4 separate regions of the Homo sapiens genome follow, and regions 1, 3 and 4 are each linked to region 2. Evidence: promoter capture Hi-C in 16 types of primary human blood cells and fetal thymus (Javierre and others, 2016). All regions are on one chromosome and are shown on one strand. The core of a region is centred on a gene start or on the middle of the fragment in contact, and the rest is flanking DNA. Distances in the headings are between cores, read along the strand shown.

What was found. Contacts are between HindIII fragments. The CHiCAGO score rates a contact against its expected background, and 5 or more counts as called.
Region 1: a fragment that was not itself captured here is called in contact with the fragment with the promoter of TMEM270 in region 2 in 1 of 17 cell types (M1 macrophages); the score reaches 5.2 in M1 macrophages.
Region 3: a contact is called between a fragment that was not itself captured here and the fragment with the promoter of TMEM270 in region 2, in 4 of 17 cell types (megakaryocytes, M1 macrophages, endothelial precursors and 1 more). The highest score is 7.0, in megakaryocytes.
Region 4: a contact is called between a fragment that was not itself captured here and the fragment with the promoter of TMEM270 in region 2, in 2 of 17 cell types (megakaryocytes and M2 macrophages). The highest score is 5.5, in megakaryocytes.

The regions. Positions count from the first base shown.
Region 1 is chr7:74,152,442-74,159,277 of GRCh38, forward strand. No RefSeq gene overlaps it. Among named protein-coding and RNA genes, the nearest start is that of EIF4H, 18 kb to the right of the region's middle. The HindIII fragment of the contact is 6,585 bases long and covers 1-5,158 here.
Region 2 is chr7:73,859,755-73,866,025 of GRCh38, forward strand. TMEM270 (transmembrane protein 270) reads left to right here and starts at 1,405. Exons shown (of 3, transcript NM_182504.4): 1 at 1,405-1,512; 2 at 5,239-5,667; 3 at 5,823-6,136. The coding sequence starts at 1,441. The coding sequence ends at 6,119. The HindIII fragment of the contact is 5,367 bases long and covers 1,239-6,271 here.
Region 3 is chr7:74,173,399-74,179,673 of GRCh38, forward strand. EIF4H (eukaryotic translation initiation factor 4H) reads left to right here and starts at 958. Exons shown (of 7, transcript NM_022170.2): 1 at 958-1,044. The coding sequence starts at 986. RefSeq lists a silencer at 709-1,218 and enhancers at 721-1,015, 997-1,510, 1,511-2,023, 6,050-6,275. The HindIII fragment of the contact is 2,137 bases long and covers 2,117-4,253 here.
Region 4 is chr7:74,191,356-74,198,009 of GRCh38, forward strand. It overlaps EIF4H (eukaryotic translation initiation factor 4H), which reads left to right. Exons shown (of 7, transcript NM_022170.2): 6 at 3,386-3,523; 7 at 3,814-5,741. The coding sequence ends at 3,953. Among named protein-coding and RNA genes, the nearest start is that of MIR590, 3.5 kb to the left of the region's middle. RefSeq lists an enhancer at 4,784-5,285. The HindIII fragment of the contact is 1,789 bases long and covers 357-2,145 here.

The DNA.
Region 1 (6,836 bases), core at 616-3,115, 290 kb after region 2:
GAACTTGTTGAGGGACAATAGTTGTCACTGGGAAGGGGAATTGGATGGCCTGTTGCCCAGAGTATGCGGGAGACAAACTTTATACCATATACCCCTGGAAGGTTTTTGTTTTTTTTTTTTTTTTAGAGACAGAGACTCACTCTGTTGCCCAGGCTGGAGTGCAATGGTGCGATCTCGGCTCACTGCAACCTCCGCCTCCTGGGTGCAAGCGATTCTCCTGCCTCAGCCTCCTGAGTAGCTGGGATTACAGGCGCCCGCCACACCCATCTAATTTTTGTATTTTTAATGGAGATGGGGTTTCACCATGTTGGCCAGGCTGGTCTTGAACTCCTGACCTCAAGTGATCCCCCGGCCTCGGCCTCCCAAAGTGCTGGAATTATAGCTGTGAGCCACCGTGCCTGGCCTCATGGATAGTTTTTGAATCTTGCATATTGTGCAAGTAAACTTACTTTTTTTTTTTTTTTTTTTTTTTGAGATAGAGTCTTGCTCTATTGCCCAGGCTGGAGCGCAATGGCGCGATCTCGGCTCAGTGCAACCTCCACCTCCCGGGTTCAAGCGATTCTCCTGCCTCAGACTCCTGAACAGCTGGGACTACAGACGTGTGCCACCACACCCAGCTAATTTTTGTATTTTTAGTAGAGACGGGGTTTCACCAAGTTGGTCAGGCTAGTCTCAAACTCCTGACCTCGTGATCTGCCCGCCTTGGCCTCCTAAAGTGCTGGGATTACAGGCGTGAGCCACCGCACCCAGCTGTAAACTTACTTTTAAAAATAAAGGCTGGGCGCAGTGGCTCACACCTGTAATCCCAGCATTTTGGGAAGCCGAGGCGGGTGGATCACATGAGGCCAGGAGTTCAAGACCAGCCTGGCCAACATCTCTACTAAAAATACAAAAAGTAGCCTGGTGTGGTGGCACACGCCTGTAATCCCAGCTACTCGGAGAGACTGAGGCAGGAGAATTGCTTGAACCGGGGAGCCAGAGGTTGCAGTGAGGCGAGATTGCGCCACTGCACTCCAGCCTGGGCAATAGAGCCAGACTCCATCTCAAAAAAATAAAATAAAAACAACAGGCCAAGCCCAATGGCTCACGCCTGTAATCCCAGCACTTTGGGAGGCCAAGGTGGGTGGATCACCTGAGGTCAGGAGTTTGAGACCAGCCTGGCCAACATGGAGAAACCCTCTCTCTGCTAAAAATACAAAATTAGCCGGGCATTGTGGCACATGCCTGTAATCCCAGCTATTCGGGAGGCTGAGGCAGGAGAATCACTTGAACCCGGGAGGCGGAGGTTGTAGTGAGCTGAGATCGCGCTACTGCACTCTAGCCTGGGCAACAAGAGTGAAACTCCGTCTCAAAAAAAAGAAAAAAAGTCGTCCTGATCCTACTCAACTTTGTGCCCCACCCCCAAACTGGAAACGGGCAAGGCCTATTCCAAAGCCCTGAGGCTTCCTCTCCGGCCTGGCTGACCTCCAGGCTGGCTAATCCATTCATCAGCCACTTCCTAGGTCCAAATTCAAGGTATGGAATCCAGGCCAACCACTTCCTTCTATCTTGACCTCCACCAAGGACCTGGGAGACCTGGACAAGGGCAGGGTTAGAATGCAGGTTCCACGCCCTGGGATTAGGCTATGACCTGAGCCGTCCCAGCTACTAGGGCAGTGATGAGTTCCTCCTTCCTTTCTACGGCTGCCCTGTCCAGTATGAAAGCCTCTAGCCACATGTGGCTACTTAATCTTAAATGAAAAGTAATTCAAATGAAATATAATTGAAAAGTCAGTTCCTCAGTCACATTGGCTACATTTCCCAGTGCTTGATAGCTCAGCGAATAGCTCCCTGTGTATTTCTGATTTTGCATGCAAAATAATCTGGTCCAGGTGTGGTGGCTCACGCCTGTAATCCCAGCACTTTGGGAGGTCGAGGAGGGCGGATCACATGAGGTCAGGAGTTCGAGACCAGCCTGGCCAACATGGTGAAACCCTGTCTCTACTAAAAATACAAAAATTAGCTGGGTGTGGTGGCACACACCTGTAATCCCAGCTGCTCAGGAGGCTGAGGCAGGAGAATAGCTTGAACCTGGGAGGCGGAGGTTGCAGTGAGCCGAGATTGTGCCACTGCATTCCAGCCTGGGCAACAGAGCAAGAGTCTGTCTCAAAAAATAAACAAACAAACAAACAAATAATCTGAACATTTTCCCATCACAAAATCCTTAAAATGGTCAATAAAATGTAAGAAAAATTTATTTCGGCCAGGCGCGGTGGCTCACGCCTGTAATCCCAGCACTTTTGGAGGCCGAGGCAGGCGGATCATGAGGTCAGGAGATTGAGGCCATCCTGGCTAACATGGTGAAACCCCGTCTCTACTAAGTACACAAAAATGAGCCAGGCATGATGGCGGGTAGCCTCCGGCTACTTGGGAGGCTGAGGCAGGAGAATGGCGTGAACCCAGGAGGCGGAGCTTGCAGTGAGCCGAGATTGCGCCACTGCACTCCAGCCTGGGTGACAGAGAGAAATTCCATATCAAAAAAAAAAGAAAAAGAAAAATTTATTTCAAATTCACAGCTGCATTTCCAAGAAAGAAAAGGAAATCTCCAAAGGCAGAAACGAGAAAAGACTGATCCATGCAAAGAACAACTGGTGAGCTCTCATTGCTTCTGCCCCGGAGTGAGGATGGGGTGAGCAATCGGGGCTTATGTTTTGGTTATTTATTTATTATTATTATTGTAAGACAGGGTCTTGCTCTGTCACCCAGGCTGGAAGGCAGTGGCACAACCATAGCTCACTGCAGCCTCGAGCTCTTGGGCTCAAGTCATCCTCCTGCCTCCGCATCCTGATTAGCTGGGACAACAGGTGTGCACTAGCACAACTGGATAATGTTTTAAAGTTTTTGGAGAGATGGGGGTCTTGCCATGTTGCCTGGGGCTGGTTTTAAACTCATAGTCTCAAGCAATCCTCCTGCCTCTGCCTCCCAAAGTGTTTGGATTACAGGTGTGAGCCACCGCACCTGGCCAGGGCTTGTGTTTTATTTTTTATTTATTAATTAATTTATTTTTTGAGACAGAGTCTTGCTCTGTCCCCCAGGCTGGAGTGCAATAGCGTGATGTCAGCTCACTGCAACCTCCGCCTCCCGGGTTCAAGTGATTCTCGTGCCTTGGCCTCCTGAGTAATTGGGATTAGAGGGATGCGCAGCCACGCCCAGCTAGTTTTTGTATTTTTAGTAGAGATGGGGTTTTATCACGTTGGCCAGGCTGCTCTTGAACTCCTGATCTCAGGTGATCCACCTGCCTTGGCCTGCGAAAGTGTTTGGATGACAGGTGTGAGCCACTACACCTTGCCAAGGCTTGTTTTAAATCCCATGTGGGGTACGGGAGACAAGCGGAGGCCCACCTAAGGTACAGAGTTAGAACTGAGATCACTTCATCCTTCAGGAGCCACACCTTCACCAAAAGGACTGAAACCGTCCCCACAGGGTTGACAAGAACTGCACGCCCGGTTCCGGACAGAAATATTGTTATAATTAGCATCCTTCAGGCTGCACTTTGGCCTACTTCGTTGTTGCTAAATGTCACGTAGCACTAGTTCCTGACCATTGCATCCCATTGTTCCTACAGACAGGATCTCTGACACTAGGATCATAAGGCTTACTGTAAAGATTGCTTAAGATGTTTTTCAGGCCCCAAATTCCTGTGAAATAGCTAATACCAACCAGTTTGAGGATCCCCACAGAGAAACGGTATCAGCATAGAACACAGCTTCTTCCTGGGCTGGGGGCAGTGGCTCACACCTGTAATCACACCACCTGGGAGGCAGAGGTGGGAGAATTGTGTGAGCCCAGAAGTTCGAGACCAGTCTCTGCAACACAGCCAAGACCCTGTCTCTACCAAACAAACAAACAAACAAAAAAATCAGCTGGATGTGGTGGTGCAAACCTGTAGTCACAGCTACTTGGGAGGCTGAGGTGGGAGGATCGCTTGAGCCTGGGAGGCAGAGGTTTTAGTGAGCCGTGATCACACTACTGTACTCCAGCCTGGGTGACAGAGTGAGATTCGGTCTCAAAAAAAAAAAAAAAAAAAAAAAAAGAAAAGAAAAGAAAAGAAAAATTAGCGTGGTGACACATGCCTGTAGTTCCAGCTACTTGGAAGGCTGAGGTAGGAAGATCACTTGAGCCCAGGAGATTGAGGCTGCAGTGAGCTAAGATTGCTAAGATCGCGCCACTGCACTTCAGCCTGGGTAACTGACTGAGACCCTGTCTCAAAAAAACCAACAGAGGCTGGGCATGGTGGCTCATGCCTGTAATCCCAGCACTTTGGGAGGCCGAGGCGGGCAGATCATGAAGTCAAGAGATCGAGACCAGCCTGGCCAACATGGTGAAACCCAGTCTCTACTAAAAATATAAAAATTAGCCTGTAGTCCCAGCTACTTGGGAGGCTGAGGCAGGAGAATCACTTGAACCAGGGAGGCGGAGGTTGCAGTGAACCGAGATCGTGTCACTGCACTCCAGCCTGGGCGAAAGACCAAGACTCTGTCTCAAAACAACAGCAACAACAAAACACAGCTGCACCTCTCCTTGTCCCATGACTTTACTCTGCACTCTTCAACCAATCAATGACCTCCACACTTCAGCCCACTCCAAGACCCAGAATAGCCCCAGTCCGAAACTCCTGTGGAGGCAGATTTGAGGTTTCTTCCCATCTCCTTGTTTGGTGATTCTATGATGAAACACCTCTTCTCATTCTTATTTATTTATTTATTTATTTGAGACTGAGCCTCGCTCTGTCACCCAAACTGGAGAGCAGTGGCACGATCTTGGCTCACTGCAACCTCCGCCTCCCGGATTCAAGTGATTCTTGTGCCTCAGCCTCTTGAGTAGCTTGGACTATAGGCCTGTGCCACCACACTCTGCTAATTTTTGTATTTTTAGTAGAGACAGGGTTTCATCATGTTGGCCAGGCTTGTCTTGAACTCCTGACCTCAGGTGATCCACCCGCCTCAGCCTCCCAAAGTGCTGGGATTACAGGCATGAGACACTGCACCAGGCCTGAAACATCTCTTGCAACCTGGCATCTGGGCTTATTGACTTGCTGTGAGCATCAGACAACAGATCTATTACAGCTATAGGATCAGCTTGAGAACATGTACCCATCTACACAGAGAAGTGACAAGCAAGCTTATCCGTTTCAGCCTGAGAATTCAAAACTCCTAAGAAAAGGAGAATAGCTTGGAGCAATCTAGGGCCTGTGATGTAAGCAGGTCCAGAAAGACACGTGAATGGGAATTCAGGCATGACCCCCATACCCGCACCAACCCTCTCCCCTACCCTCCCTCCCTAATCCATGCCCAAGGGGCGATTTTTTATTTATTTATTTATTTATTTATTTATTTATTTATTTTTGAGACAGAGTTTGGCTTTTGTTACCCAGGCTGGAGTGCAACAGTGCGATTTCGGCTCACTGCAACCTCCGCCTCCTGGGTTCAACCGATTCTCCTGCCTCCAGCCTCCCAACTAGCTGGAATTACAGGGATAGACCATCATGCCTGGCTAACTTCTTTTGTATTTTTAGTAGAGACGGGGTTTCACCATGTTGGTCAGGCTGGTCAAACTACCTACCTCAGGTGATCCGCCCGCCTCGGCCTCCCAAAGTGCTGGGATTAGAAGGGTGAGCCACCATGCCCAGCTATTTTTATTTTTTTGAGACAGGGTCTCACTCTGTCACCCAGGCTGGAGTACAGTGGCACAATCTCAGCTCACTGCAACCTCTGCCTCTCGGGCTCAAGGGATCGTCCCACCTCAGCCTCCCAAGTAGCTGGAACTACAACTATGCACCACCACGCCTGGCTAATTTTTGTATGTTTTGTAGAGATGGGGTTTCACCATGTTGCTCAGGCTGGTCTCAAATTCCTGGGCTCAAGTGATCTGCCTACCTCGGCCTCCCAAAGTGCTGGCATTACAGGCGTGAGCCACCGTGCTGGGCCTGGGGCAATTGTTTAAAGTCATTTTCTTCCCAAGTTGCTGTCTCATCCATTATCTTTGTTTGTTTGTTCGTTTGAGACAGAGTTTCGCTCTTGTTGCCCACGCTGGAGTGTAATGGCCCGATCTTGGCTCACGGCAACCGCCGCCTCCCAGATTCAAGTGATTCTCCTGCCTCAGACTCCCTCCTAGTAGCTGAGATTACAGGCACCCAACACGACGCCCAGCTAATTTTTTGTATTTTTAGTAGAGAAGGGGTTTCACTATGTTGGCCAGGCTGGTCTCAAACTCCTGACCTCGGGTGATCCACCTGTCTCAGCCTCCCAAAGTGCTGCGATTACAGCTCCATTATCTTTAAATTCTCACAATCAGTGATACAAATAACAATGTGTAGCCAATCAATAGCTCACGTTATTGTCATATAAATTCCTGGTAACTAATTTAGGAAACTGCCTCTTCTTTTCCATTAAAAACCTCCTTGTGTTGGATTCCATGGTTCAGGCCTGTAATCCCAGCACTTTGGGAAGCTGAGGCAGAAGGGGGATTGCTTGATGCCAGGAGTTTGAGACCAGCCTGGGCAACACAGCGAGACCCTATCTCTACAACAAATTAAAAAATTAGCTGGGTGTGGTAGCACATGCTTATAGTCTGAGCTACTCAGGAGACTGAGATAGGAGGATCGCTTGAGCCCAGGAGTTGGAGGCTGCAGTGAACTATGATGGCGCCACTGCACTCCAGCCTGGGCAACAGAGCAAGACCCTGACTCAAAAAAAACCTATTTGTGGCCAGGCAAGGTGGCTCATGCCTGTAATCCCAGGACTTTGGGAGCCCAAGGCAGGTGGATCACCTGAAGCCAAGAGTTCAAGACCAGGCTG
Region 2 (6,271 bases), core at 155-2,654:
AGTGGCATGATCTCAGCTCACTGCAACCTCTGCCTTCTGGGTTCAAGCAATTCTCCTGCCTCAGCCTCCTGAGCAGCTGAGATTATAGGTGCACGCCACCATGCCAGGCCAATTTTTTTTTTTTTTTGTATTTTTAGTAGAGACGGGGTTTCACCATGTTGGTCAGGCTGGTCTCTGCTGAGACCAGCTTGGCTGGGGAGACCCTAACCCAGCAGCACTAGAGGAATTAAACACACACACACACACACACACACACACACACACACACAGAGAAATAAAGAGGTGTGAAGTGGGAAATCAGGGGGTCTCACAGCCTTCAGAGCTGAGAGCCTCAAACGGAGATTTACCCACGTATTTATTAACAGCAAGCCAGTCATTAGCATTGTTTCTATAGATATTAGATTAACTATAGATTAGATTAGATTCCCATAGAAGTATCCCTTATGGGAAACAAAGGGATTGGGCCCAAATAAAGGGATGTGTTTGGCTAGTTATCTGCAGCAGGAGCATGTCCTTAAGGCACAGATCACTCATGCTCTTGTTTGTGGTTTAAGAACGCCTTTAAGCAGTTTTCCGCCCTGGGTGGGCCAGGTGTTCCTTGCCCTCATTCCGGTAAACCCACAACCTTCCACCGTGGGTGTCATGGCCATCACGAACATGTCACAGTGCTGCAGAGATTTTGTTTATGGCCAGTTTTGGGGCCAGTTTATGGCCAGATTTTGGGGGCCTGTTCCCAACAGGTCTCAAACTCCTGACCTCGTGATCTGCCTGCCTCGGCCTTCCAAAGTGCTGGGATTACAGGTGTGAGCCACTGTGCCTGGCCCCTTGCCTCACTTTCTGACTTCCTATGGATGCTTGCAGGGCCCACTCCCCAAATAAACTCATCACCCTTCAATTTTTTTTCTTTGTTTAGAGATAGGGTCTTGCTCTGTCACCCAGGCTTGAGTGATCCTGGCTCACTGCAACTTCTATCTCCTGGGCTCAAGCGATTCTCCCACTTTAGACTCCTGAGTAGTTGGGACTACAGGTGTGCATGACCAAGGCTGGTTAATTTTTTTCTTTTTTTGTTTTTTTGTAAGACAGGGTCTTGCTATGTTGCCCATGCTGGTCTCAAACTCCTGGCCTCAAGCGATCCTCCTACCTTGGCCTCCCAAAGCATTGGGAATCCAGGCATGAACCCCGTTCCTAGGCGGCACTTGATTCCTGTTCCAAGATCTGGGGAAATCCGACCCGAAGGAAGCTTTGCTCTAAGACCTCCTTGGCCGTGTTGGGCTCAGACGTGGACTGAGGTTTCAGAGGAAGCAGTGGAGCGGCAGGAGCCAGGTAAAGGCAGTGGGTCACTGGCGGCAACCGGGTCCCCATGGTAACTTGGTCCCCACCCTGTGGCATCTGTGAGGTCACCCTGCTTCTCCCAGCTGGAGTAGGTGGGGGAGGCCAGACATGGAGGCCCTTCCTCCAGTCAGATCCAGCCTTTTGGGGATCCTGTTGCAGGTTACGAGGCTCTCAGTGCTGGTGAGTGGGGGCTGGGGGTAAGTGGGGTGGGGACCACACACCAGGCCCTTCACAGAGCCACCTCAGAGCTGCCGGGCCCAAGCCCTGCCTGTCCCATCCAGTGGAACGAGGTGGCTGCCTGCCTTCCAGAATAATCTGACATCTCCCAGAAGCCCCACTCCAAACTACAGTGCTGACATTTTCTTTTCTTTTCTTTATTTAGAGACAGGGTCTCGCTCTGTCGCCCAGCCTGGAGCGCAGTGGTGCCGGCTCAGCTCGTTGCAGCCTCCAACTCCCGGTCTCAAGCAATCCTCCCCCCTCAGCCTCCAAGTAGCCGGGACTATAGGTGTGCACCACCACGCCTGACTAATTTTTGTATTTTGTAGAGATGGTGTCTCACTACGTTGCCCAGGCGGGTCTCCAACTCTTGGCCTCACATGATCCTCCTACCTCAGCTTCCTGAGGTGCTGGGATTATAGGTGTGAGCCACCGCACCTGGCAGCATTTTCTCTATTGAGGGTCACTCCTATGGGTGAATCATTGTTTTTCCCATTCATTTTTTCTTTTTTTTGAGACAGAGTCTCGCTCTGTTGCCCAGGCTGGAGTGCAGTGGTGCGATCTCGGCTCACTGCAACCTCTGCCTCCTGGGTTCAAGCAGTTCTTCTGCCTCAGCCTCCCAAGTAGCTGGGACTACAGGCACGTGCCATCATCCCTGGCTAATTTTTTTTTTTTTTTGTATTTTTAGTAGAGACCCTGTTAGCCAGGATGGTCTCGATCTCCTGACCTTGTGATCTGCCCGCCTCAGCTCCCCAAAGTGCTGGGATTACAGACATAAGCCACTGCGCCTGGCTCATTCATCTCTCTCTCTTTTTTTTTTTTTCAGATGCAGTCTTGCCCTGTCGCGCAGGCTGCAGTGTAATGGTGCGATCTCGGCTCACTGCAACTTCCACCTCCAGGTTCAAGCAATTCTCCTGCCTCAGCCTTCCAAGTAGCTGGGATTACAGGCGTGCGCCACCACGCCCAGCTAATTTTTTGTATCTTTAGTAGAGACAGGGTTTCACCGCATTGGCCAGGCTGGTCTCAAACTCCTGACCTCGTAATCCACCCACCTCGGCCTCCCAAAGTTCTGGGATTACAGGTGTGAGCCACCGCACCTGGCCCATTCATCTCTTTTAAACATACACATGCTTGTGGTCGGGGTCACAACTCAGTCACACTTAGGAGGCCGAGGTGGGAGTATAGATTGAGCCTGGGAGGCCAAGGCTGCAGTCAGCCAAGATCATATAACAGGGGGCAGTTGAGAAAGACAGACACCATTAGATTTGCATCTTGGGACCGGGAGCTGTGGCTCACACCTGTAATCCCAGCACTTTGGGAGGCCGAGGCGGGCAGATCACCTGAGGTCAGGAGTTCCAGACCAGCCTGACTAACATGAAGAAACCTTGTCTCTACTAAAAATACAAAATTAGCCACGCGTGGTGGTGCATGCCTGTAATCCCAGCTACTCAAGAGGCTGAGGCAGGAGAATCGCTTGAACCTGGGAGGCGGAGGTTGCGGTGAGCCGAGATCCCACCATTGCACTCCAGCCTGGGCAACCCTGGGCAACAAGAGCAAAACCCTGTCTCAGAAAAAAAAAAAAAAAAAAAAAAAAAAAGATTTGCATCTTGGCTGTTTTACCCTCTAGCTGTGTGAATTTGGGCAAATCACTTCACCACTCTGAGCCCGTTTCCTCTCCTATAGAAATGATCTTGTGGGATCATGTGGGATATCATAGGTTTCCCTCCTCCCTGGTCTCAGCACCATAACCTGGGAGGTCCTATTTCCTAGCTCTACCCTAATTCTTCTCCCTGCTGGACCCTTTGGTCTCAGCATAGCTCCACCCTCCACGTCCCAAGCTCTGCAAATCCAGCCCGTGAGTGGGGGGTCTTGCAGCCAATCTCAGATGGTGGGGCCTGTGGACACGGGGATGGGGGGTCCAGGTGGGTGGATTGGTGTCACTCAAGGGCTGGGGGCTTTCCAGCTCTGATGAAGGGTCTCCAGGACTCAAGAACAGCTTTCCCCCACCTCACCCCAGTCCTGCAGCTTCATCTCAGTGAATGGGAGACACCGTTGTCCAACTCACCACCCAGATCAGAAATCTGGAATTCTTTTTTTTTTTTTTTGAGATGGAGTCTCACTCTGTTACCCAGGCTGGAGTGCAGTGGCACGATCTGGGCAAACTGCAACCTCCGCCTCCTGGGTTCAAGCAATTCTCCTGCCTCAGCCTCCCGAGTAGCTGGGATTACAGGCATGCACCATCATGCCCAGCTAATTTTTGTATTTTTAGTAGAGATGGGGTTTCACCAGGTTGACCAGGCTGGTCTCGAAATCTTGACCTCAGGTGATCCGTCTGCTTCGGCCTCCCAGAGTGCTGGGATTACAGGTGTGAGCCACCATGTCCGGCTGGAAATCTGGAAGTCTTTCTGGATCTCTCTCCTTCACCCTTCTCATTAGGTCTGTCGTGAATTATGTGACCCCTGCCCCATGTCTCTCACGCCTCCCTGCCCCTAATGGCATTGTCCTTTGCCCCAGCAGCCCTCCTGATGCCAGGGGACAACTGGTACAGAGGCAAAGCCCAGCTACTTGGAAGAAGACAAGTGACCTGGGTTCAAAGCCCACAGGATTGGGGTGGGGGATCGTAACATGGTAATAATAGCCATGAAACCTCCTTCAGTCTGGAGTATTGTAAATAATCATTTAAATCCAATGGAGGCCAGGTATAGTGGCTCATGCCTGCAATCCCAGCACTTTGGGAGGCTGAGGCAGGAGGATTGCTTGAGGCCAGGAGTTCGAAACCAGCCTGGATAACATAGCAAGACCCCGCCTCTACAAAAAAAAAAAAAAAAAAAAAAATTAGCTGGACTTAGTGAGATGCACCTATAGCTCCAGCTACTTGGGAGGCTAATGGGGGGAGGATTGCTTGAGCCTATGAGTTCAAGACCAGCCCAGGCATAATAAGAAGACTCCATTTCTTAAAAAAAAAAAAAAAAAAATTAGCCAGGCATGGTGGCATGCACTTGTGTGGTCTCAGCTTTTTGGAAGGCTGAGATGGGAGGGTTGTTTAAGTGTGGGAGGTCAAGGCTGCAGTGAGCTATGATGACACCACTGCACTCCAGCGTGGACAACAGAGTGAGATCCTGTTTCTTAAAAAAAAATATCCAATGGAAAGGAACCCAAATACAATATGAAACACCTTCTAATGTTCCCTTCTCAGAAGGGAGTCCTTCAAAGTGGACAGAGTTCATCCTTGCACCTGTGGGGAGCTGAGGCCTTGAGATGGGGATCTGACTCAAGGTGGTCCAGCAGCTTCACCTCTACAGTAAAAGTGGGGTTCCTGGCCAGGCGCAGTGGCTCACGCCTGTAATCCCAGCACTTTGGGAGGCTGAGGCGGGTGGATCATCTAAGGTCAGGAGTTCGAGACCAGCCTGACCAACATGGTGAAACTCCATCTCTATTAAAAATACAAAAACTAGCCAGGTGTGGTGGCAGGCGCCTGTAATCCCAGCTACTCAGGAGGCTGAAGCAGGAGAATCGCCCGAAACCGGGAAGTGGAGGTTGCAGTGAGCCGAGATAGCGCCATTGCATTCCAGCCTGGGCAACAAGAGTGAAACTCCGTCTCAAAAAAAAAAAAAAGAAAAAGAAAAAGTGGGGTTCCTGTCCCAGGAGGGTGATGATGGCTGACGGTTGTCTCTCTCTCTTCTTCTGCAGTTGGTTCAGAACCGAGATCACCTCTATAATTTCCTGCTCCTCAAGATCAACCTCTTCAACCACTGGGTGTCAGGGCTGGCCCAGGAGGCCCGGGGGTCCTGTAACTGGCAGGCCCACCTACCCCTGGGAGCTGCAGCCTGCCCCCTGGGCCAGGCTCTCTGGGCTGGGCTGGCTCTGATACAGGTCCCCGTATGGCTGGTGCTACAGGGACCCAGGCTGATGTGGGCTGGCATGTGGGGCAGCACCAAGGGCCTGGGCCTGGCCTTGCTCAGTGCCTGGGAGCAGCTGGGCCTGTCTGTGGCCATCTGGACAGATCTGTTTTTGTCATGTCTGCACGGCCTGATGTTGGTGGCCTTGCTCTTGGTGGTAGTGACCTGGAGGGTGTGTCAGAAGTCCCACTGCTTCCGACTGGGCAGGCAGCTCAGTAAGGTGGGTGGTCTCGGGGTGAGGCTGGGGTGTGGAGGGCAAACCTGGGGTACTGGGTGTGGTCAGGGCTGGCTGGGCTTGCAGGGGGGAGCCACAGCCAAGCAGTGTAACCCTATGAGCTCCTAAGGGCCACCTGCCCATCTGTCTCCCTGTTCCAGGCCTTGCAAGTGAACTGCGTGGTAAGGAAGCTCCTGGTACAGCTGAGACGTCTGTATTGGTGGGTGGAGACTATGACTGCCCTCACCTCCTGGCACCTGGCCTATCTCATCACCTGGACCACCTGCCTGGCCTCCCACCTGCTGCAGGCTGCCTTTGAGCACACGACCCAGCTGGCCGAGGCCCAGGAGGTTGAACCCCAGGAGGTCTCAGGGTCTTCCTTGCTGCCCTCACTGTCTGCGTCCTCGGACTCAGAGTCTGGAACAGTTTTGCCAGAGCAAGAAACTCCCAGAGAATAAATGTATCCCCATCTGCCTCTCCTGGTCTGGCCTAGCCTATGGTCTCACTCCCTCTTCCCTAATGGGCTGGAGAGATGTTGTGTGAGTGATGTGCATGTGTGTGCCTGCATGTGAGCCCAGGACTGCCTCTGGGAAGGAAATCACTTTCCGTC
Region 3 (6,275 bases), core at 1,935-4,434, 320 kb after region 2:
CAGAGCGAGACCCTGTCTCAACAACGAACCAATAAATACATAATAAAAAGTAATGGTTAAGCGGAAGATACCTAGGTACACATCACAACAAAATTCTATGAGGTTCTTTCAAAGTGTGCTTAGATAATTAAGGTTTGTCAACATCGTGGCATCCACAATTACTACCATCTCAATCACAAACCTGGAAATTTACCCGTGTAATTAATTCCCACTGCATAACCATGTTTTGTTATTGCTAGATGATGGAATCCACAACAGTATCCAATTCTTTTTCCAAGGCAACGACTTCTGCAAAAAACCGAGATGTGCAGTCTCTCTTGCTAAGTCACCGATCACCTATACTCTCTCCTCTCAAAACCCCCCAATACCCAGGCAGCGAGTAAGCCCTGGAAGGCAGGATTCGTGTCTGCATCCCACCGCCTCGCACCCCCTTCCGGGGCATCCTCATCGTGTGGCCAGCTCCTGCCTGGAGAAGGAGGTGGCCTTTACTTGGGTGTCACCCGGGGACCACTTGGGGGTCCAAGCGGGACAGGCCTCCGAGGTCCCCGCCATGTATGGAGGCCGAAAGGCAGCGTCCCAGGCGAACTGGAGAGGGAGTTCCCCCCAGCTCTCCAGGTCACCTCCCGCCGACGGACGGAAAGGCCGGCGCGCACGGGCGTGGTGCGGCGGGGATAGGAGGCAGCCACGGGCGCACCCCAGGGCCAGCACATAATGGGCCGCGTAGGCCGGGCAGGCGTCCAGCTGGGACGCCGCCGCACCACGTGGGCTGCAGAGCGCACGGGGCAGGCAGCTGCCGGTGGGCCCAGGGCCGGGCGCTGCGCGGCCAGCGTCCGTGCGTGCGTGCGCGCGCGCGCGTGCGCGTGCCTGCGTCCAAGGGATTTGCGATCAGGCGGCGCGGCGGACAGCCCCGGCGGCGGGGCGGGGGGAGTTATATTGCGGGGTCCTTCCTCGCTCACCCTGGTTCCTCTCGGAGCGGAGACGGCAAATGGCGGACTTCGACACCTACGACGATCGGGCCTACAGCAGCTTCGGCGGCGGCAGAGGGTGAGGCGGGCGTGCGCGGGCCCCGTCGGGGGCTGCGGGACCGGCGGAGTCGGGGCCGTCAGGGTGGCGGCCGTCCTGCGCTCAGCCGGGGCGGCGGGAGGCGGGGGCCCGCGGAGGCCTAGGAGCGGCGCCTGGAGGGCCGGGGCCTGGAAATGGCGCGCTCGGAGACGGGGCGGCGGCGGCTGGGCTCCCGGGGTCTTGCTTGCGGGGCGGATCCCTTCCACTGCCTCCCGCCAACGACAACGTGTTGGTTTTTGCCCTGCCTTGGCCGCGGCGGCGCCGATGCCCGGAGACGAGCGCCCGCTTCCAGCCCCATCCCCCCTACGGTAGGACCAGTGCGGGGCTGAGCTGTGGCGCTGGGGTACGGGCCACACGGCCTGCCCCGCTCCGGTCCCGGCCTCTTTCGCGGCCCTCTGTTGCCTGCCCGCCTTGCAGGCCCCTGGCCCCTTCGCCACGAGGCCGGCCGACTGGGGAAGGTCGGCAGCCAAGAGGGGCGATTCCCTTCCCCTTACGTGTGAGGCAGGGATTTGGCGGCTCTGGCCCGGGGATGGTACGACTCCTTGCGGGCGGGGGGAGACCAAGGAGATAAATCCATCGTAGCTTCTTTGTATTAATCTTTCTTGGGTCACAGTGCCTTGACAGGTGCTACGTGCTCTTTGGCACAATTTCATTTCTCCTTGGTTTCTCGCTCTGATCTGGAGAAGGAACCGCATTTAGCGTCGTCCTGATTGTTGTCAAATGCAGACAACTATGTATAATTGAAACACTTTGCTTAAAAGAAACATCTTTGAATAGAGAGCTCATGGTGTTTAATTCCAGGACTCTGCACTTTTTTTTATTTTATTTTTTAAATACAAGTTGCCTCGTTAGAATATAGGCTATGAACATCTTGCTGTTTGTCAAGGACACACTTGGGCTTTGTGTTTTCTTGCAGAAAGGATTACTTTCCCAGGATAACACCACAATAATACACACTGAGGTGTTCAGTCTCCTGGGTTGCAGTCCAAAAGTATCTTTGTTTGGTAAAGAATGATCACTTTTAATACCTTGGTTTGGGAACGGCTCAGACAAAAGCTTGTTTCGGGGCAGGAGTGTAGCTAATGTTCATGATACTGTAACGTGGAAGTGTGCCGGTGTAGGTGGAGCTATTGTCATTCCAAAGAACATTTTATTTGCTAATAAAAAAAGAAGTAAATGTTGGATGACATGAAATTATCGCCTTTGGGTTAGGTTTCTAAACATCAAATTTGTTCTCAAGTCATTTCGAAATTTAATAACTAGGGTTTTTTTTTTTTTCCTAGTTCCAAAAAACGTTCACAGAAGTACCCAGAAAAATTCTTCTTAAACAGCGTGGTCAATTTAAGTTTTAGTTGCATTGGGACTACAATAAGGTGACCTTATTAAACTGAGTGTGGGGATTTAAAAAAATTTCCTTCAGACACATTTGCCAGCTCTTCTGGTGTCAAATTTTGACATTTGGGGGTGCCAGGAACAATCAGAAGTAAAATTCTATTAAGATGCTATTAATTTCAAATCTCCACAGCAGATGAAAATATTAGCCATTTGCCCCAGGTGTACTCCAAAAACTGATAGGAGAGTTTCCTAGGTAGCACTGTGCATCACTTGAACTTCCTAATAGAAAGTCTCTTTACTGTTAAGCATCTTCTATGTCTCACTTACTTGGAATTTTCTATTTGGCTTCATATTAATGTGAAACTACATAAAGTATTGCTACTTTCAGAAGTAGTTTTAAAAACTTGTTGGTGAATTTACATATTCATTTATACATGTGTATTCTTTTTTTTTTTTTTTGAGATGGAGTTTCACTCTTGTTGCCCAAGCTGGAGTGCAATGGTGTGATCTCGGCTCACTGCAACCTCCACCTCCCGGGTTTAAGCGATTCTCCTGCCTCAGCCTCCCAAAGTGCTGGGATTACAGGCATTAGCCACCGCGCCCGGCCTCAATTATTTTAATTATGTCCACATGAACAAATGTCACTGCTTTACAATGCTTAAGCATCATAGAAGATTGCCACCTATGGAAAGCAGTTTTAACACTGCATTGTTTGGTACTTGTGTAGGCACCTTCTCCCTTGTCTAAAATGCCTCAGACAGGCTCGTACATCTCACCTCTGAATTACTTGGGTCACAGGTGAAAGAAATGGTAGGCCTAAAATGAACAGTTATCATCATAAAACATAGTTTGGTAGTTATACATCTTCCTAAGTTTATTTCGTAGTTGTGTTTAATAACCAGTGCAGTTGTCAGGAAACAGTATTGAACCACTGCTTTTTTCCCCCGAGCCTGTAAGGGCATGTCCCCAGCAGCCAGGGAGAGAACCAGGGACTGCATTGTTCAGCAAGCAAATCAAAACAAAATTCCAAATGATCAAGAGTTGATTGTACCAGATCTTGAATGGACTTTGTTTTGCAGTTTGCTAAATTATCTTTTTGAGGTTCCAGTTTCTCATCTACCATTGGCAGTAAAGTGCAGAGTAATACTGATTTTATATTTCTAATTGCAACAAAGCTATGAGTGCTTAGTGGAAAACCACCGATCCTGAGAATTAGGGTGGAAATTGGAGGTGGCAAGAATTGAGGTGGCTGAAATGGTGCCATCTAAAAACTGGCAAAACTCCAAATTTATTCTTTATCAGGATTCAGTTAGGGAGTTTAGAATTCTTTTTTAAATAGAGATGGGTTTCACTATGTTGCCCAGGCTGGTCTTGAACTCTTGGACTCAAGTGATCCTCCCGCCTCAGCCTCCCAAAGTGTTGGGATTACAGGCATGAGCTACCACGCCCAGCCTAGGAGTTTAGAATTCTAACCTTTGAATCTTTAAACTTAGCATGTCTGTCTAAATTTCTGAGCATATTTTTATCCAAAATTTTTATGGTGGTAAAATATACATAACATAAAATGTGCCACTTTACCCATTTTTCAGTATACATTTCAGGGATATTGAGTGTATTCGTAATGTATAACCATCACCACTATCCAGCTCCTTAACTCTTACAGCTTGTAAAACTAAAACCCTGTCCCCTTTGAATAGTAATTCCCTATTGCCCTCCTTCCCCCAGGTCCCTGGCAACCACCATTCTACTTCCTGTCTCTGAGCATATTTTAAGATTTGTATGTAATAGGAAGGAAAGCAGTGTATAAAAACTACAGCTAGTTTTCACTGATGCTAGGGCCTGTAAAGCTATTGAAAAGCTTATTTTAAAATGCTGTTTACATGTCAAATGTCAAGTCGTTTAGGTTTGTTATCCTTCTTCACTCCAAGTGTTCCATTGCTTAGTTCCAAACCATTATCCTCTATGAAAAGTGTTACCAGAAATATTTGGATTTGCTAAGAGGTCTCTGCATGACGGTTCATGTAAAAGCCCTGGCTTTGGAATAAGGCAGACCAGAGTTTCATCAGTTCAGCCATGTGTTAGTTGTGTGATCTGAAGTAAGTTTCTTCACCTCTCTGAGCCTCGTTTTCCCCACATATGAGTTAGAAACATGTATTTATTTATGAAATAGGCTCTCCTTCTGTCACCCAGGCTGGAGTGCAGTGGCAGGATCATAGCTCAGTGCAGCCTCGACTTCCCAGGCTCAAGCCATCCTCCCACCTCAGCCTCCCAAGTAGCTGGGATTACAGGGTGCGCCACCATGCCCAGCTAATTTTTGTATTTTTTTGTAGAGACAGAGTGTCTCTATGTTGCCCAGGCTAGTCTCAAACCCCTGGGCTCAAGGGATCTTCCTGCCTCAGCCTCCCAAGGCTCATTGTGTGAGCCACAGTACCCAGCCTTCAATTTATGTTTCTATTAGAAATTAAGCTTTGTGGCTGGGTGCAGTGGTTCATGCCTGTTATCCCAGCACTTTGGAAGGCCGAAGCAGGCGGATCACTTGTGGCCAGAAGTTTGAGACCACCCTGACCAACGTGGCAAAACCCCATGTCTACTAAAAATACAAAACGGGTGTGGCGGCACATACCTGTAATCCTAGCTACTTGGGAGGCTGAGGCAGGAGAATTGCTTGAACCAGGGAGGCGGAGGTTGCATTGAGCTGAGATCATGCCACTGCACTCCTCCAGCCTGGGCGACAGAGAGAGACTGTCTCCAAAAAAAAAAAAAGAAAAATTAAGCTTAGTGTTCTGGAAAGACTTCACAATTTTAAGGAGTCTCCCTGGAAGCTTAGAACGTACAAAGCAGACTCTGAATGTCTTTCCAGGATCACACTCTGGCTTCCAGCTTCCCCTGGAAGGTTCAGGAGAGTATTTGTCGCCTGGTTGCTTTTACATCATGCTGATTAGACCTGCACACCCGGGCATGAAATGAGTGTGATTGCATCATTTTCATAGAACCTAATGGCAGCTGTATGTACGTCTAAGACTTCTTTTGTGTAAGTCGAATGTTCTTCGAAGTTTCCCCACGTCATGATTTATGTGATTTTCCGTCTTGATCAGGACCTTCTGAAGGAGCTCAAGTATGTGGCTGCTCCACGGTTGATGAGTCTCTGGTTAAGCATGGCCTTCCAGTTCAGGGCTAGGGGGGCCGTCACCTCCCTTTGTTCTGCACATTCTTCTCCTGTCTTTCATGTATACTCACATTTTTGGAGCCTTCTGTGTACTCACATTTTTGGAGCCTTCTAAATGTCTGGCTTAATAGAACACAGCTGGATTCTCATACCTGCATCTGTCTCCACTCTTGGAATGTGTTGCTTTGGTTGACTTTTATGGAGCAGCTCAATCCTTGCACAGATAAATAGTTGGAAATGGGAGGAGTAATCAAATAATTCTGGATATTCATATTTGATTCTATACCAAAACTCAATAAGCAGTAGTTTCTATGAAGGTTAGTTGCAATGTGAAACCTAAAACCTTATCAATAAACTCTTCATACTTTTACATTAGAGTTCATCATTTGGCTGGGCGCGGTGGCTCACTCCTGTAACCCCAGGACTTTGGGAGGCCAAGGCGGGCGGATTACCTGAGGTCAGTAGTCTGAGACCAGCCTGGCTAACATGGCAAAGCCCCATCTCTACTAAAAACACAAAAACTAGCTGGGCATGGTGGTGGGCCCCTGTAGTCCCAGCTACTTGGGAGGCTGAAGCCATAGAATCACTTGAACCTGGGAGGTGGAGTTTGCAGTGAGCCCAGATTGCGCCACTGCACTCCCGCCTGGGCGACAGGGTGAGACTCTGTATCAAAAAAAAAAAAAAAAAGTCACTTTATCTTGTACTCCGACTG
Region 4 (6,654 bases), core at 1-2,500, 330 kb after region 2:
TCGCAGGTGTTATAGAAGTTGCCCACATACTAACGTCTTTCTACCCTTGGCTTAGCTTGGCCACTGGCGCTCAAGCAGAGACACAGTGAACACGGCCATGGCCTGGCCGCCACCAGTTCTGGTGGGAACTGCAGTGTTTTGGTGACATCTCAAACCCTATGTGGGCTCACTCGATGGAGTAATGGCTAATTTGATACTTTATACGTTATTTGCGAGAGTAGATCTTTTTTACTTTTTAATAGGATGGTGCTATTTTTTTTAATGATACCTGCTCATGTAAAAAACAAAATAGAGCAACAGAAAAGTACCAAGAAAGCAAAAACATTTCATCATCAGAAATAGCCAGTGTTAAACTAAGCTTTGTAAAGAAAACTCTGAAGATTCTCATGAATAGTTTGCTTCCTAGAAACCCACCAACAGATTTTTTGTTGTTGTTTTTTTTGAGACGGAGTCTTGCTCTGTTGCCCAGGCTGGAGTGCAGTGGTGCGATCTCGGCTCACTGCAAGCTCTGCCTCCTGGGTTCATGCCATTCTCCTGCCTCAGCCTCCCAAGTAGCTGGGACTACAGGCACCCACCACCACGCCCGGCTAATTTTTTGTATTTTTAGCAGAGACGGGGTTTCATCATGTTAGCCAGGATGGTCTCGATCTCCTGACCTCGTGATCCACCTGCCTCGGCCTCCCAAAGTGCTGGGATTACAGGCATGAGCCACCGCGCCCGGCCCCCACCAACAGATTTGATGAGAGATCCTTGTTCATCTGCTTCACCAGCGTGGTGTGAGCTATTTGTTTCACGCTAGACATTGGTGGTCGAAATCATTTAATCTCATAGTAAAGGGTGTAAATTTACTTTGTACTCACGTGGAAAGGTACACTTCACAGTTTAGTTTGGGGGAAACGTGAAGTTAAATGTTTTAATACTAACTAGGCTTGTTCACTGAACTGTGTAATGTGGGTAAAATACTTTGTAAAGGACCTTATACTCGACTGTATGCCTCCCAGTGTATTTCCCCTAAAGCAGTGCTCTTATTGGTCTAAATCTGTTCAGACTTGCTTTCATTACTTGGTTTGTTAAAATTTATTATTTAACTCAGTCTCTGAACTGGGTGTGAGATCCCTTGGTTTCCAAAACCCTTGCCACCTTTAAAGAATAGAAATCGGCCCCCACCACAGGTGATGCAGTCAGCGCTTATCATTGGAGGTGGTTCTGTGGAGTTGCTAGAACACTGAATGAGCCCGTGCGGTGCTGCTCCTGTGTGCTACAGATCACAACATTTTCGTCAGCTGATCATACCTAACATTGCTTTATGTGACTTTTTTTTTTTTCTTTTTTTTTTTTTTGAGACAGAGGCTCACTCTGTTGCCCAGGCTGGAGTGCAGTGGCATGATTTCGGTTCACTGCAATCTCCGCCTCCAGGGTTCAAGCGATTCTCCTGCCTCAGCCTCCCAAGTAGCTGGGATTACAGGCGCACACCACCACACCCAGCTAATTTTTATATTTTTAGTAGAGACGGGGTCTCTCCGTGTTGGTCAGGCTGGTCTCGAACTCCCAGCCTCAGGTGATCTGCCCACCTCTGCCTCCCAGAGTGCTGGGATTACAGGCGTGAGCCACCACACCCAGCCTATGTGACCTTGATTTTAAAGACGCCTCATTTAATGTTAGTGTTGATTCATTTAATAGTGTTAACATTGAACTCAGGGCCAGCTGTAGTAAGTAGTCTGTGGTGCCATCATTTCAGCCTGTTAGAAAGCTCATCCCACACCGGTTTTGTCTGTAAGACACCTGACAGCCAGCCTGCACTTAAGAACAGCAGACAGCACTTCACACTGCACCTGGGGCCACTTCAGACAGCGATGTCACCAGAAAAAGCCCAAAGGGCAAAACACCCGACACTCATCGTGAAAAGACTTGACAGCTAATAACTGAAACAGGCAGAGCATTATCGTTTTCTGCCTCAGCTGGGATCGTCGCATCTGTGCAGGTCCAGGACTGACTGGAGAAATGCTGCTGGTATCTAGCTTGGGATTACACATGAATTTTAGCGACTGGGTGGATTTGCAAATATGGGATCTGTGGATAATGAGGATGACTGTATAGTGCATACTGCGGGCTCTGGGGGTTCTTCTCAAAGACAAGCTCCCTGAAAGCTTGGAGCCTTGGCACCACTCTCGCAGAGAGTAGCAGTGGCACCCCCTGAGTGCGCAACCAACAGCAGCAAGCTCATTTGTTTAATTATGGTTTAACTTCTTTTCGCCAGTTTTTTTTTTTTTTCCTTGAGACAGAGTCTCACTTCATCACCCAGGCTGAAGTGTAATGGCACGATCTTGGCTCACTGCACCCTCTACCTTCCAGGTTCGAGCGATTATCCTGCCTCAGCCTCATGAGTAGCTGGAACCCCAGGCGTGCGCCACCATGCCCAGCTAATTTTTGTGTTTTTTGTAGAGAGTGAGTCTCACTGTGTTGCCCAGTCTGGTCCTGAACTCCTATACTCACCTCCCACCTCAGCCTCCCAAAGTGCTGGGATTACAGGCGTGAACCAGTCTTTTTACCAAATTTTAACATCAGTAGGTTATACAGTTAAAGTTTAGCTTTCACTGAAGTACAAGCCTGAAGGCCCCTTAAGACCATTGAGAAAATACTCTTTCCTCCTACACACCAGTGGGAATTCAGCATTTCTAAATGAGATGCAGTTTACTTCTGCCAAGAGCCCACTTAGCAGGCACACAAATGAATGGGGAAAGAACGCTTTGCCCCCACAGGAGGCGCCGGTGGGGGTGAGGCGCTGTGCTCTCTGCTCATGCCCCTCTGTGTAGGGCATGGCCAATTTCGGATAACTGCTTTGTTTACCACACAGGTGCTTTGCTTGTAGAATGGCCCACACCTAAAACGCAGCCAAAACAGGAAAATTGGGACTTTGTGTTTTTATTTTGTCTTCATATAGCGTTTTCTTGTGATTTTTGTGTTCTGAGTTGTAAATACTTCTAAATTTCAGGTTTATCTTTTAAAATAGCTGTATAGATTTCTATTAGAAAATAGAGTTCAACCTGCTTTGAGGCTTTCTTGTTTTGCTTAAGCCGTATTAAAATACAGTTTCGTGGTATTAATATTTTTCTACTTTTCATGCAAGCTGAGCATGTAAACAGCTCGTTTGTTTGCTCTCCTAAGATCTTGATTCCTTTTTCTTTGGGAAGTCTGTTAGCGCTGTCATTACTCCACACATTGGCATTTGGACCCACTTTTAACACACTTTATTTTGGAGAGACTTCAGATAGTGGACAAACTAAAGAATTTAAAATGAAACTCAAACAATTCCCAGAACATTATTCTATAAGCAGCTTGGAGACGATAGTTTGAAAAGTAATTCAGTGTCCTGTTTCTTCCTCAGGCTTCAGGGATGACTTCTTAGGGGGCAGGGGAGGTAGTCGCCCAGGCGACCGGCGAACAGGCCCCCCCATGGGCAGCCGCTTCAGAGATGGCCCTCCCCTCCGTGGATCCAACATGGATTTCAGAGAACCCACAGAAGGTACGGGCTCATGTGTCAGTGGAGGGCATCTTGTCCTGATGGGATGATCATGGCCGGTTCACACCCCGTGGGGACTTGGCGTTCTACGGCACACAGAGTTGTCGGCATAGATCCCCACGTTCTCTGGAATAGCAAGTTCACCTTGGTCATTAGAGCATCTGCTGTTGGGGTAGCAGGCCAGGTGAATTTTAGAAAGTGGGCTGGTTTGCTGACAGCAACATCAGCATGGTCGTTTTGCTGGATATGGAATGGGATCCACACTCTGACAAACTCTGCTTTTTCTCCCCCAGAGGAAAGAGCACAGAGACCACGACTCCAGCTTAAACCTCGAACAGTCGCGACGCCCCTCAATCAAGTAGCCAATCCCAACTCTGCTATCTTCGGGGGTGCCAGGCCTAGAGAGGAAGTCGTTCAAAAGGAGCAAGAATGAGCCTGCGGTTGGGAGGGAATGGGGCGTGGGGGGTTAGAGCAGGACCACAGCCTGGTGAGTCCCCGGGCAGCCGTCCTGCAGCCGCCACTCCTGCGCCTGCCATTGGCCTCCTCACAGCGGAAACACAGCTTGTGAGTGCATGTCAGCTGTTAACAAGTGGTTTTTAGTACATTCTGGGCTTTGCTGTATCTATCTAGTGCCTGTTTGTGCGTTTTTTTCTTTCTTCCGCTGCTTCCCCATTTTCCTTCTGTCCTTTTTCTCCTGCTCCTTGTTTTCCCAGCAGCACATGGGGTTCCTCGGAGGAGCAGAGGTGGCCGCCGTGGGGGGGCGTTTGGGCTGCGGTGCTGCGTCATTTTTCCTTTGCTTTCTCTTTACTTTAGACACTGGCCCAACTCCAGGCGTTTCCTTTCATTCCCTCAGTGCTTCTCTTCTGACCTGCATGTTGAGTTCTGTATTGCTGGGGCTTCCAACAAAAACCAGAGTCACTGACAGAGGGAACAGCAGAGACCTTGTTGGTATTCAGCTGTGATGGATATAGAGAATCAGAGGCACCTTGTTTTCACAACTAGGATAAAAATATCTGCAGGGTCCTTTCCATTCCTATTTAGAGGGAGTCCTGGCTCCATGACCCCCTCCCGAGTGGACTGTCCAAGCAGATAGGCTCACACGAGAAACAGTGAGGCTGAAAGGGGGGGCTATGGAAGAGCGGTAGGGAGTCCACGGAGAAGATGCAGTGAATGCTTGCATGCATTCACACGTGTGTGTGTCCCAGCTAGTTCACTCCTTTCGCCGTGCGTGGTGGAGGCTGGCCTCTCTGGCTGGGTGCAGTGAATGGCCAGCGGGTTTCTTTTCTGCTGGGCCAAGGCGCTTTGGGGGTGGAGGGGGTGGTGCTGGTGCTGCACTGGGCTGACTGCGGCGCTGACGCAGCGTTTCCCCCCATCCCTGTTGCCTGTGTGTTGTGTGGATCTGTTCCTAGTATAGGCAACATAATGAGATACTGTGCTTCCCACCTCCCCTTCAGTTCAGAGCCAAAATGGGTCTAGAATCTGGCACTTTACTCATTTCCTTTGATAAATTGTACTATGCAGAGCTGTCAGGAACCTTCAGATAGCAGTAGAGGACTGCAGCTGTCTAGGTCTGCGGCCACATCTTGGGGACACACTGGACTGTTCCCATGTGCAGGGTTCAGCAGTTATGTGGGAGTGCTAGGGGTTAGGCTTTTGAGCTTGAACGCCTGCGTGTGAACAGATGAAAAATCCTTCAGTACCCAAGTCCCAGTCTGTCCTATGGGGAGCAGTTTGGGGGCGGCCGGCAGCAGGAGCCTGGGAAAGAGGCCCTCGCCAGGTGATGGCAGGGCCAGGGTGGCCTGGGGCACCCAGCGGAATGTGCTTAGTATTTGGTCACCAGCCGTCATCCTGGGCTTTTCCTACTGTGTCTTGTTACAAGGCCTCAGCAATCCACAGAACTCTCTCTCCTTCCTTCCACCTGTCAGCTTCTCTGCTTCTGAGATAAGAACCATTTGTGTAACACCAACACTTAACTTCAGAAAGACATGCATTATGTGGTGTAATCAAACCCGATGCTTTCAGATGACCTACTTACATCTTCAATGTGGATAAGATAAAGAACAAAACACATGCATCTAAACTGCTGGGCAATCCAGTTGACTTTTAAATGTAAGAATGGAATTCCAAACACTTAACACATTCAGCTATATGACAGAAAGTAAATCTATGGATATGGTATTTTGTGAATGATCTTTTAAATAAAAGAAAACCTTACGTAATATTTAATGCTTGCCTTTATTTTTGAGTTCTTTTTAGCTGCTCATGGAATGTAACAATTTTAAATTTGGGAAGCACCATTGAAATGGAAGAGTCTTCCTGTCATTTTAATTCTGGGATGAGTGAAGTTATTTTAAAAGCTGGTGATGATTAGAAATAGGATGCCAATTTTTTCCCCTCACTTGCTAAAAATGTCCTTTTCCCAACCAGGCAGAAACCTTGAAAGTCTGGCTGTTTTTGGTTAGGTAAAGGAACATTTTTTTCCCAAGATGGAAGAAATCAAGCATTTACACAACATGTGGCTTCTTTTAACAACTGCTTGTAAACGAAATTCTAGGTGCCCCTCATGGCTGGGAGGGCTGCTGCTTCCTGACAGCAGATCCTGACTCTGGGGAGGTGCTGCTATAGGTTGGTATTGGATAGTGTTAAAATTGACTTAGGCAGACAAAGAAGAGCTGAGTGGGCAAGGTGCGGGGCATGAATGCGTGTTTGGCAAAGTCCTGGCTGACTTTGGAAGGGCCTGGCCAAGGCAGACCTTGCCTACCTTGAGGTAGGAGCATTGTCTGGTGATGGAGGACCCCGGACCACGACTAAATTTTAGTAAGGCAGGCAAGGGCTGTTCAGGTGGGAGCCTAGAGTAACTCTTTTGCTTCAACTACTTTCTACCCAAGAGTAGGTGGTAGAGAGGACCGGTGTTTCAGAGACAGGGTCTCCCTCTGTCACCCAGACAGGAGTGCAGTGGCGTGATCTCGGCTCACTGCAGCCTCCGCCTCACGGGTTCAAATGATCCTCTTGTCAGCCTCCCAAGTATCAGGGACTACAGGCACCCACCACCATGCCTAGCTAATTTTTGTATAGTAGAGATGGGGTTTCACCATGTTGACTAGGCTGGTCTCAAACTCCTGACCTCAAGTGAT